Regions from separate parts of the Homo sapiens genome. Here all the other regions are linked to region 4. The links are contacts of gene promoters, found by promoter capture Hi-C in blood cells and fetal thymus (Javierre and others, 2016). All regions are on one chromosome and are shown on one strand. The core of a region is centred on a gene start or on the middle of the fragment in contact, and the rest is flanking DNA. Distances in the headings are between cores, read along the strand shown.

Region 1 (2,700 bases), core at 164-2,663, 340 kb before region 4:
TAGGGAGAAATAGTCCTCTATTTATATTCAGAAAATTAACCACAAAGATAGAAGGTAGAGAAAACCTGAGCTAACAGCAGCCCATGTGGGCATACAAATGAGGCAGCCGTGAAGCCAGCATTTGTGTTGCTATGGCTACATGAAAACCATTTACAAGATTGGTGCAGTAGCTCATGTCAATAATCTCAGCATTTTGGGAGGCTGAAGTGGGAGGATTGCCTGAGGCCAGGAGTTTGAGACCAGCCTGAGCAACATAGCAAGACCCTGTCTCCACCAAAAAATAAAAAATAAAAAAAATAGCCCAGCCTGGTGGCTGATGCCTGTAGTAGTCCCAGCTGTGCAGGAGACTGAGGTAAAAGGATTATTTGAGCCCAGGAGTTCCAGGCTGCGGTGAGCTATAATCATGACACTGCACTTCAGCCTGGGTGACAGAGTGAGATCCTGTCTAAAAAAATAAAAATAAAAGAAAGAAAAGGAAAGCTTTTACAAAACAGATCCATAAAGAAGAGGTAATATTCTTGCTGCACTCTGCCCTGGCCAGACCATATCTGGAAACTTCAGTTATGTATGCTGTTCTTTAAGAATACACATCCTAGGCTGGGTGCGGGGTGGCTCACGCCTGTAATCCCAGCACTTTGGGAGGCCGAGGTGGGTGGATCACGAGGTCAGGAGATCGAGACCAGCCCGGCCAACATGGTGAAACCCCATCTCTACTAGACATAAAAAAAAATTAGCCGGGCATGGTGGCAGGCACCTGTAGTCCCAGCTACTCGGGAGGCTGAGGTAGGAGAACCTCTTGAACCCGGGAGGTGGAGGTTGCAGCGAGCCAAGATTGAGCCACTGTACTCCAGCCTGGGCGACAGAGGGAGACTCCGTCTCAAAAAAAAAGAAAAAATACTCATCCACATCTATTGATGTGTGATAGTGAAGGAGCTAAAAACCGTAGCATGCAAATCAATGTAACCTAGAATAGGGAAGACACAAGTATTATCCCCTCATGTTTGAAGGCTGTCACTTAGAGGAGAAAAGAGGGTTACTATGTGTAATCCTGTTGGGCCAAGGTAACAAAAATATGCAGAGTGGATTGTATTTTTTCTTATTTAAGAAAACTTGATGGCCATGGGTGAAAATGAGTAGAATGGCAAGAGGCCTGGAATTTTGACCTTAAGACAAGTCATTTAACTTGTCTGATTTAGAATTTTCTCATCTGCAGGATAGAGATTTATTCATTCAGCCTTTCTGCAAATGTTTATGGAAGCCTTACTATGTGCTAAGCACTATGCTTTCTGCAGAGTGAACAAGGCAATCAGTCTCATTTTGTGTCCTTACAGAATTTGAAAACTGGAAGCCAGACAAATAAATAAGTAATTATAACACACAGTTGAACTCAAAGGTCTTAGACTTTCCTTCCAACTCTTCCACCTCTGTCTGGCATATTTTAGAGGGACTGACTTTGCTCTGTGTGGTTCCTTTTATCTCTCATTTTGTGATCCTTTGAATGTCTATAGAGGGTTAGAGAAAATGAGATTAATGTGGTCCTTCATTTAAACTTTATTTAATAAGTAATACGTTTTTCCTTTGGGGAAGAGAACTTAAACTAGTAGAAATATCAATTGACTAAGGAGACAGGACATGGAAATTCTTTTCCTGGCTCTGATGTCTATCATTAAATAAATTACTTTACTTTTTGCAGTCTTAAGTTTCTAGGCCAGGAAATAATTTTAAATAAAAATAAATGTATAAGAAGAATATGAATACATACTAAAGCAGTAATGCGAGTCTATGGAAGAAGAATGTTATATAATTTGTGTTTTAAACTATTTCATATCCTAAAATTCAAAGAGATTTGATCACTTTATATAAGTAGGCCCTTTGATTTTATAGGATATAAATTTGCTTTTTTGATTTATTCCTGGTATTCTCATCATAGAAGTCACATGTTGGTCTTTGATATGTTTCAGAAGAATAAAATCATTTTGAATTTCAGAAGATATAGATCTTTTGATGGACCTTCCTGAACTTCATAGGCCATAGCTGTGCTGTCGTTTTTTTTTTTTTAAGCCGTTCATTTCTCCTAGTCTTTGTTGCTATACTTTGGTCTGGAAAGTTCTTGTCCCTTTTTGTAGCTTCCTTTTTGGTTAACATTGTTCTCATCATGTGTTCATTTCCGGCGTAACTTCTAAAGAGAGTGTTAATGTACCATTGGATTCCACATTGACTTCAAAGTTTTTATTTACTGACCTTTCACTGGGAGAGAAACTGGTGTAGGTACAGTTTTAAGATAAACTTGGGCAGGTTAAGATTCTCCTTAATTTCTAGCTAAGTTCCTTGAAAAACTAAGCTTTTCATGGACCTAAGAATAAAAGCTACTTGAGAGTTTCTAAAATCTATTATACTCCCTGAAGACAGAAACATACTTAAGTGAAAAACTTGCCATTTTAAAATATATCCACTAGGTAAGGAAATCTAGTAATATAGCAGTACCAACTTATTTCTTGCATTAATATTTTCATCTAATCATTTGTACATTCAGCAAACTTGGACCACACACAGTCCCAGAAATTGAGGTGTGGGGGTAAAGTACAGGTTAATTTTGCAGTAGGATAAATGCCTGTATGTATGGCTATCCATCTTTATACCTTGAAATATGTTAACATAAAAAAGTTTTAATTAAATTACAGTAATAAAAACCCAAAGAGC
Region 2 (2,700 bases), core at 39-2,538, 380 kb before region 4:
TGAAAAATGATTATTTTCTGTAAAAACCAAGTGATTTTTTCCTGAGATTAACTCAGTTTTAGTTTTGTGAGATAATTAGATAAACACAGTCCTGTATTGAATTTAGAAACACAGCCTCTATTACTCAGGCTCAAGTAGAAGATTCTAAATAGTTATATAAACTGATGACATCTTTAAGTCTACTTCCCCAGCCCTTTCTGGGTATCTTGCATATTTGGTCTCACTGTACTTCCTTGTTACATTCACTGTTGCAGTCAGCCACACTAGCTGGCTTGGCCCTGATGGAACCTACTTGCACCTCACCTGTGACTCCTGTTGCAGTTGGAGGCTGATAAAGTTTTTATCATGGAAGTTTTTGCCTTCTTCCTCTCAGTCCCAAGATAAAGCTAATTCAAGTGGTTCTTTTGTTTGTTTTCTAGTCAGTGTTCTCTGCCATGGAGGCAAAGGGAGATGGAAAACATCAAGTCTGCATTTTTAGACATTTCGTAACTGAAGTTTGTGTCTTCCTGCTTTGTTTCTAAGAGCAAGACATATTGGATCTCTGGTGGTTTTATGAAAATGGGCCATTTTGGTTTTCCAATTTCACATAAAGGTGCAGTAACACTGCTGCCTTCAGTCGCAAAGCAATCTGAGATTTAAAGTGCCATGCTTATATTTAGTTAGGTTTCTGAGGCAGCAAATGTCTCAATGATTTTGCAGGTGGCAAACAATAAACATGTGCAGAGATGTACTGAAAAATGCTTTAAATGGATTGTTGGGACTACTTCAAAGGGAACATCTCATTACTGGTGTTGTAAAGAGCTTGAGCTCTAAGTCATTGGAAAATGAACCCAGCCAAGTTGCTGATAGTGTAGTGGTTCACAGGACAATTCCTAAGTAATGCATAGGTGCTTTGGTTTCTATAAAAGGTCTGAGTGAGGTTTTTGCTACCTGATCTTTGCCATATTATTTTTTAAACCCAGGTTTTAATAGTTAGGAAGACTTTTCTACCAAGAAAAAAATGTAAAAGCTTGAGTCAACATAACGTTTCGGAAAGTATGTCAAATTTTACTGAAATGAGCCTATAAGGAATTCAAATATAATTTTGCCAGGAAACTAGAGTGGTATATATACTTACAGATGTCAGTGGCTTGAAAATATACTGTTTATTCAGTTATTCATTTGGCAAATGCTTACTGAGTACCCACTGTGTACTAACCACAGTTCTAGGCCCAGTGAGAGTTACACAAATGGAAGAGGGCAGAATTGCTGCTTTCAAGTTCCTCTAAGTCCAGTAGGTAGGCGTGTTACTTGATATCAGGTAAGTTACTTGATATCATTGAGCTTCCTCATTCGTAAAATGAGGGTAATAGTACTCACATTGTACATTTTGGGGCTTAGAGATATGAAATACCAAGCGACATACCTGGCACAAAATAGGCTTTTGATAACCTGTAATTATTGTCATCGTCATTTGAGAAGGAACATGCAGCATATAGTATATGTTGTGGGGGAGGTACCAAAGATATTCAGTGGCAGTTTAAAGAAAGAACAGACCATTTTAGGATCAGGGACCCAAAAAAGCTTGCGGAAGAGGTGGCATTTGAGCTGGGCCTTGAAGAATAGAATTTCAGTAGGTTGAGGTGGGAAGAGGGTATTTCAGAGATAACTGCAAGCCTTTCCTGAAATAACTGGAAAAGCAATAGCATTCAGTTTGGAGGTAAAGAGTGTGTGAATTGAAGTAGAAAGTTGGAATGGCAAACTAGCCCAAGATTGTGAAAGGCCTAGAATGTCAGGTTAAAGAGTTGAACCTTGTTGTCAATGGGAGCTTCGTCGAAGGGTTTCCCTGGTGCCCAGAACAGTGTCCCCCCCATAGTAGGCACTCAGCAAATACTTACTGAATAAATAACTGAGTGTAATTTTAGACAAATGGAGCTTAGTAAGCCAGGTAGAAATGTCTTACAAATAGCTGGGAACATAGGACCAGAAGTCAATTCTGAGATTGAGACTGAAGGTAGAAATTTGAACAGCGTGAATATAGAAGAAGTTATTGGAGTTGCACGTGTGGATAACTTGATTTAAGGAGAACATCATGTAGCTCTAGCCAGAGAAGAGAGCTCAGACAACACCCCTATTTGACCAGGAAGGGAAGGAAGAAGATGGAGACTAAGTGGGTAGAAATGAGAAGAAAACTTCAGTGAATGTGGTACCCACAAAACCCTGGGAGGAAACTTTTAAGGAGGGGCTGGTTAACAGCACAAGGAATTTAAGGACTTTGGGAAACACTAATGGCTGTGTAACAAGGAGGTCCCTTGGTGGCTATAGAAGAGAAGTTCAATTGAGTGGGGTCTTGTGTCAGGTTGTAAGGTATAAGTAGGCACAGCACTCCCTGGGACATTTTTTTTTGTCTGTTTTTTTTTTTTTTTTTTTTTTTTGGCAAGGTTAGTATTTACTGGTATTTGATTTTTTTGGAGCATACATTTAAACAAACAGTGTGCCCAAACTGTGTATATAGTTTTGATTCCAATTAAATATTGGATAAAAGTACACCTATTTATTTTCACTGAGTTATGAGATCATGACTGATTTTTATTTTCTTTTCCATATCTGTCACTATTTACCAGAGTTTCTACAAGTATTTATTACTTTTAGAACTGGAAAAAAATTATATAAATTATTTTTATTTATTTATTTATTTTGAGACAGGGTCTCACTCTGTCC
Region 3 (2,700 bases), core at 120-2,619, 370 kb before region 4:
TAACAAAATACTCAACCAAAAGTGGCACAAATAGTAAGGCCAAAATATCACTGTAATTTTTCTTTTATCTGACAGATAACTATTGAGCACTTAGTGAATGTCGAGGACTTATGCAATAAACACTTCACAGGATACCCAGGGGTAGGTGGTCTTGGGGTCATCCAGGACCTACAGGCTTTCCATCTTTTTGCTTTGTTTTCCTTGGTATATTGGTGATTTCTCTTCTCTCCCATCATTGGTACAAAGTGGCTACAGCTGCCCCAAGGATCATTTTAAAAAACATTTTCCTAACTTCCCAAATGTGTTAGGATCATTTTCTTAAATACCAACAGTAAAAACCAGGAAGAGAGAGAGCAGGGCATCTCTTCTGGGTCTTTTTTTCCAGAGGCTCCCAATAGCACCCGCTCCTTGGCCAGAACTGGGTCACATGTCCACCCCTAAGGCAATCTCTGGCAAAGGAAAATAGGATTACTGTGATTGGATTAAACAAATTATTATTCTTTTTACAGGGCAGGGGAGAGGCCATCTTTCCTGAGCATATTGCCCCCATACCTGAACAAAATTAGGGTTCTGTTAATGAAGGCAGCTGATAGGTTTTGCCTTACATGTGGATGTGCTAGTGGGATTTCTAGGATCTCTTCCAGCTCTAAGTCTCTATAATTCTGTAGGCTGCATCAAGAAATTGTAATGGAATGCCATTTATGCCTAAAATCCAGCAGCCTAAGTATGGGAGGGTCTTTTATATTTAATTCCTATAGATTAGATATATAGAGCCAAAAGCTCACCATGGCAAAGAATAAGCATGGTTTGAAAGGTGATGTTTGGAATTGTTTCCTGGGTCCAAAACCTCAACAGAGGCTAAGGCTTGCCCTCATCACAGAAGACAGAAAATCTCTGCTTTTAAAAAGTTGGATCTGTGATCTCCTAGTCAGGTTCACACTTGAGAAAAATTGGCCAGGAATGTATTGACTTATGCTCTATCACTGTTGCCCATAGCAAAGAACTGGATGGAAGAGATCCCTAAACTGGTATATCTAGTTAATGTTAATATGTAGCCAGATATGTTACAGGTCTGTTTCCACTAGAGCTGACATAGGTAATCTTTTTCCTAGGTTTATGAAGGGAAAATGAATGGAATATCCTCTTTTTACCCAAAAAGAAAGTCTCCAAAGTAGCCATAGAAAAGACTAGTTCATTTCTACCAGAACAAATTTGTTAATAAAAATATCTGTGGAATACCATCTGTGTACTCCACTGGCCAACACTGTACGAGGGCCTGTGGAGCATATTAAATATGTGCAAGACACAGTCCAGCTTTGATTCCTGTAGTATCACTCTCTTCATGTTCTTTGCTATGGACATGTGTGGCAGTGTCATGATTAGTGTGCCCCGATGTGCCTGTAATGAGGAGAACAAAGACCTAAAATTAGTTCATTTTTTCCGTTTGTTTCTGGCTTGAACATAGTCGAGTACTATAATATGAAACAAATTGACTTGGAAAACTGTATTTTATTAACCAGGAATGCAAAGAAAAGAGTGATGATTGTGACTCAGAATGCCAGAGGAGTCTTCATTGAGGAAAGGCTATTTCAGCTGAGCTTTGAGGATTGAGCACAAAGTCAAGGTGGAAAGAACACAGCGTATGTATGAGATGGTCAGGAGGCTAACCTAGAACAGGGGTACATTTTGGAGTAGTGAGCTGAGACTTTGGAGGACCTTCAAAGCCATATGAATAGACTTACTGTGATATATTTGGCAAGAAGCAACCACACATGTCTTGAGACTCAAGATTAAAAGGGTATTTAATAAGAAATATGGAAGTTGGTGGGGTGAAAGTGGTGATAGGGTAGCAGGGACCCTCCTTTTCAGTGGCTTTATGTGTCCATGTAAAGGGACGTCAGCTGGAATAGCACTCTTGGCCTCCGTCCATCCCTTTGCACACCCCACCCATGAGAAGGAGGAGTGACTTATTGGCAAGTTTAGGAGAGGAACCAGGTAATTCAGCTGCTGTCCTAAGAGCACTAATTCTGGTCCGCTCCCCCAGATCTGCTCCTCCATGCCATCAGCCCTTCATGGGCAGTTTCCCAGGAGGGGAGGCCTCTGGCTATCCAGTGATGCTTGTGACTCAGAGGTAAGTCTCTGAAATCCTGGGGTTCAATTTGCTGCTACGCAACTAAGTTGCATCCTCCAACTGTCTGATGTTTTGATCCCCATGTATCTGACCACCCTCTGTCTATCTCAATTGGTTCAAAAGTTGGGTGAGGAAAAGGAAGGCTCTTCAGTGGGTCTCCTCAGGCCCCAACAGTGCATGGAATGATTGGTAGGTGGAAAGAACTAAGGGATGGAAACCAATCAGAAGGTCTGCCAGGCGTCATGATGTGTGATGAGGACTCAGATTAGTGTTGAGGACTCAGATTAGTGTGATAGTGGCAATAAAGAGAAAGTGGGACTTGTGAAAAGGAAAAGAAAGGCTGTAATTGGGGATAGATGGAGGATAATGGATGAAGGAAAGGGAAAATCTAAGTGAAGGCCCACCATCTGGAATGCTCTTTACCCCTTCCTGCCGTCTCTGAATATCAATTCTATCCTGTCTTCAAAGTCTACCTCAGATACCACCTCCTTCTCAAGACTTTTAAGAACTTCCCAGGCAAAAGCCCTCTCTTTCTTCTCTTGCGTGTTAGAAGGCTCTGAGTACTTTAT
Region 4 (2,700 bases), core at 30-2,529:
AGGCTGCAGTGAGCCGAGATCGCGCCACTGCACTCCAGCCTGGCGACAGAGCAAGACTCCGTCTCAAACAAACAAACAAAATCCCACAAAAATTAGCTGGCGTGCTGGCGCAGGCCTGTAATCCTAGCTACACGGGAGAATGAGGCAGGAGAATCGCTTGAACCCGGAAGGCGGAGACTGCAGTGAGCCGAGTTCGCGCCCTTGCACTCCAGCCTGGGCGACAGAGAGAGACTCCGTCTCAAAACAAAAACAAAAACAAAAACAAAAGCAAAAAACCAAACAAAAAAATCAGCGCTCGGGCCCCCTCCCATGGCCAGCTCTTGGGGCGGGGGACTGGTAAGGGAGGTTTACCCCAGCTGGTTCTAACGTGCAGCCGCGCTGAGAGCGCAGCGGGCGGTGTGGGGCGAGGGGCCCCAGGAGGAAAAAGAAGCCTGCCCCGGGAGGATGCCGGTCCCCGCACGGTCCCACTCAATGGACCCACTCCAGCCGCGCGCTCTGCCAGGGCCTGCGGCCAGGGTACCAGGCCCTCGGCACCTTCCACGTCCAGCGTGGGTCCTCACGGGCAGGTGCGTCTTGGCATCGGGAGGAGGGAGACTGGGGCACTGGAGTCTGCAGCGCCGCCTGGGGCCGGGGCTGGAGCCGAGCGCACGCCCAGAGCTCCGCGCTTCCGACTGCAGCCAGAGCCCGCCGACCCCCGCCCCACTTTAAAAACTTGGACTCGGGCGCCACGTGTTCACTTCCCCCACTGTGCTTTAGTTGAAAAGGGTTTTGTGACTTTTCCACTCGATTGCCGCCAAGCGGGCTATTACGCCGCTTCTGACCCCACCGTGGAGACGCGGGGACTAGAGTGACCATGCCTTCTTCGGAGCGAGCTGTCTCCATCATCCGCTAACGCGCCACCTTTAAAAAACAGGCACAACGCGCAAGCGACAAAGTCAGAGGCAGAGAGCGGCGGAGCACATGATAGAAAAGGTCGAGAGGCACATTCAGCGCCAGGTGGGTGGCTTTTCTCTCCCGCTAGGAGAGCCCAGGGCACCCCATGCTCTCCCTGTGCACCCGCGGCAGTTCGGCACCCCGATCTCACTCTTGCTCCCGCCCCCACAGCGCCTCCCTCGGCGGCGGGGGAAACGGATTAAGTCGTCCGTGTACCCTGGGGACGCACGAGGGAAAGCCCCGGTCCCCCCTCCCGCAACGTCACTCCTCCACCGCGCCACGGCCCGGCCCCGCCCTCGCCGTGAGCTCCGGGGGCACCTGCCGGAGGCTGGGTGCCGGGAGACCGGAAATGCGTGGCTCCGGGCCGGGGCCGCCCGCCCCCGCGTCGCGGGCTCTTTAAGGCCGGCGGTTTTCGCAGCCAGCCCGGGGCGGGGAAAGCGGAGCGCGCGCTCCACGCGGGACCGCCTCCCGGGCCGTAAGTACCGGCGTGGCGGCGCCTCAGCCCGGCCTGGGCGAGCCCTGGGTGCTCCGCCGGGCAGCTCACGGCGCCCCGTATGGCCTGGGGATCCTAAGAGGCCCTGTGACCCCCCTCGCCTGGTCTCCCTCTCACCCCTGGAGGGTTGCCGCAGCTCCGGGGCCCCCGGGCAGGAAGGGCGCACTGGTCGTCCCGGGAGAGGGGTGAGTGGGGGGCAGCTATAGGGGGAGTTCGGGGAGGCCTCCGAGTCCCCGCTGTCCCCGCGAGCCGCTTGGAGGCCCCCAGTGTCGCTCACTTCCAGGGTCGGGGAGACGGAACTGCGGCGACCATGTATTTCTGGTTTATCAAACCGCTAACACCCAGTCTAAGGGCAGGTTCTGTCCCATTGTTATCACTATCGAAGCAGCCGATGGAGGAGGGGAGGTGGGTAGCGAAACCGTAGCGAAAGAACCCGGGCCGCCCGGCTGGCTGCAGCTGCAGTCCGGGCGCCCGGGTCTGGGTTGGAAGCGCTGCTTTCCGCGCTGCTCTGGGGCCCTGGGCGATCACCGCCGCTTCCGCCGCTTGTGTAGTTCTGAATTCACGGAGTGGTAGCAGTGCAGTGTATAGGGTATTCTGCGGAAGTTGGAATGTTCTGGGCTTTTTTTTTCTTCTTCCCCAAACACATCCGTTGACACAAATTCCGAGCCAAATCTCACTCAGATTCGGAAGAGCCATGCAAAAGAAATTGGACAAAGGCTTCCTCCACCTGTTTCTTTTTTTCTTTTGAACTTGTAAACGACCTTAAAAGCATTTGGAGTTAGTTAAGAACAGATAATGTATCTTTTGGCCAGAGCGTCACCCAGGATTCTTTTGCACGGCAGGTCTGAGCAGAGGGCGGGGTGCAGGCGGAATGGCCCTCGTGCCCTATGAGGAGACCACGGAATTTGGGTTGCAGAAATTCCACAAGCCTCTTGCAACTTTTTCCTTTGCAAACCACACGATCCAGATCCGGCAGGACTGGAGACACCTGGGAGTCGCAGCGGTGGTTTGGGATGCGGTAAGTAAGCCCTGGGGGACCTCTGAAAACGTTCACACTTGCAAGACTGGCTTTTATTTTTTATTTTTTTTAGAACAGCTTTATTGAGATATAATTCACATAGCATACACTTTACCTATTTAAAGTGCACAATTCAGTGCGGTTTTAAAAATACAGTATATTCACAGAGTAGTGCAACTATTACCGCTTCAATTTTAAAAGTTTTACTATCACTGCCACTCTCAAACCCGTATCCCTTAGTCACTCCTCTTGTCCC

Evidence for each region. The method cuts DNA at HindIII sites, captures the fragments that hold promoters and counts their contacts. A CHiCAGO score of 5 or more calls a contact.
Region 1: a fragment that was not itself captured here is called in contact with the fragment with the promoter of METTL21A in region 4 in 1 of 17 cell types (total CD8 T cells); the score reaches 5.7 in total CD8 T cells.
Region 2: a fragment that was not itself captured here is called in contact with the fragment with the promoter of METTL21A in region 4 in 4 of 17 cell types (M2 macrophages, total CD8 T cells, M1 macrophages and 1 more); the score reaches 6.7 in M2 macrophages.
Region 3: a contact is called between a fragment that was not itself captured here and the fragment with the promoter of METTL21A in region 4, in 1 of 17 cell types (total B cells). The highest score is 5.4, in total B cells.

Annotation. Positions count from the first base shown.
Region 1 is chr2:207,964,750-207,967,449 of GRCh38, reverse strand. All of the region lies in intron 3 of PLEKHM3 (pleckstrin homology domain containing M3), which reads left to right. Among named protein-coding and RNA genes, the nearest start is that of PLEKHM3, 59 kb to the left of the region's middle. The HindIII fragment of the contact is 1,861 bases long and covers 483-2,343 here.
Region 2 is chr2:208,008,216-208,010,915 of GRCh38, reverse strand. The region is part of intron 1 of PLEKHM3 (pleckstrin homology domain containing M3); the gene reads left to right. Among named protein-coding and RNA genes, the nearest start is that of PLEKHM3, 16 kb to the left of the region's middle. The HindIII fragment of the contact is 554 bases long and covers 1,012-1,565 here.
Region 3 is chr2:207,989,285-207,991,984 of GRCh38, reverse strand. All of the region lies in intron 2 of PLEKHM3 (pleckstrin homology domain containing M3), which reads left to right. Among named protein-coding and RNA genes, the nearest start is that of PLEKHM3, 35 kb to the left of the region's middle. The HindIII fragment of the contact is 8,087 bases long and covers 1-2,700 here.
Region 4 is chr2:207,623,973-207,626,672 of GRCh38, reverse strand. It overlaps METTL21A (methyltransferase 21A, HSPA lysine), which reads left to right and starts at 1,279. Exons shown (of 4, transcript NM_001127395.5): 1 at 1,279-1,611; 2 at 2,269-2,444. The coding sequence starts at 2,298. RefSeq lists enhancers at 1-108, 109-813 and a silencer at 1,084-1,683. The HindIII fragment of the contact is 10,824 bases long and covers 1-2,700 here.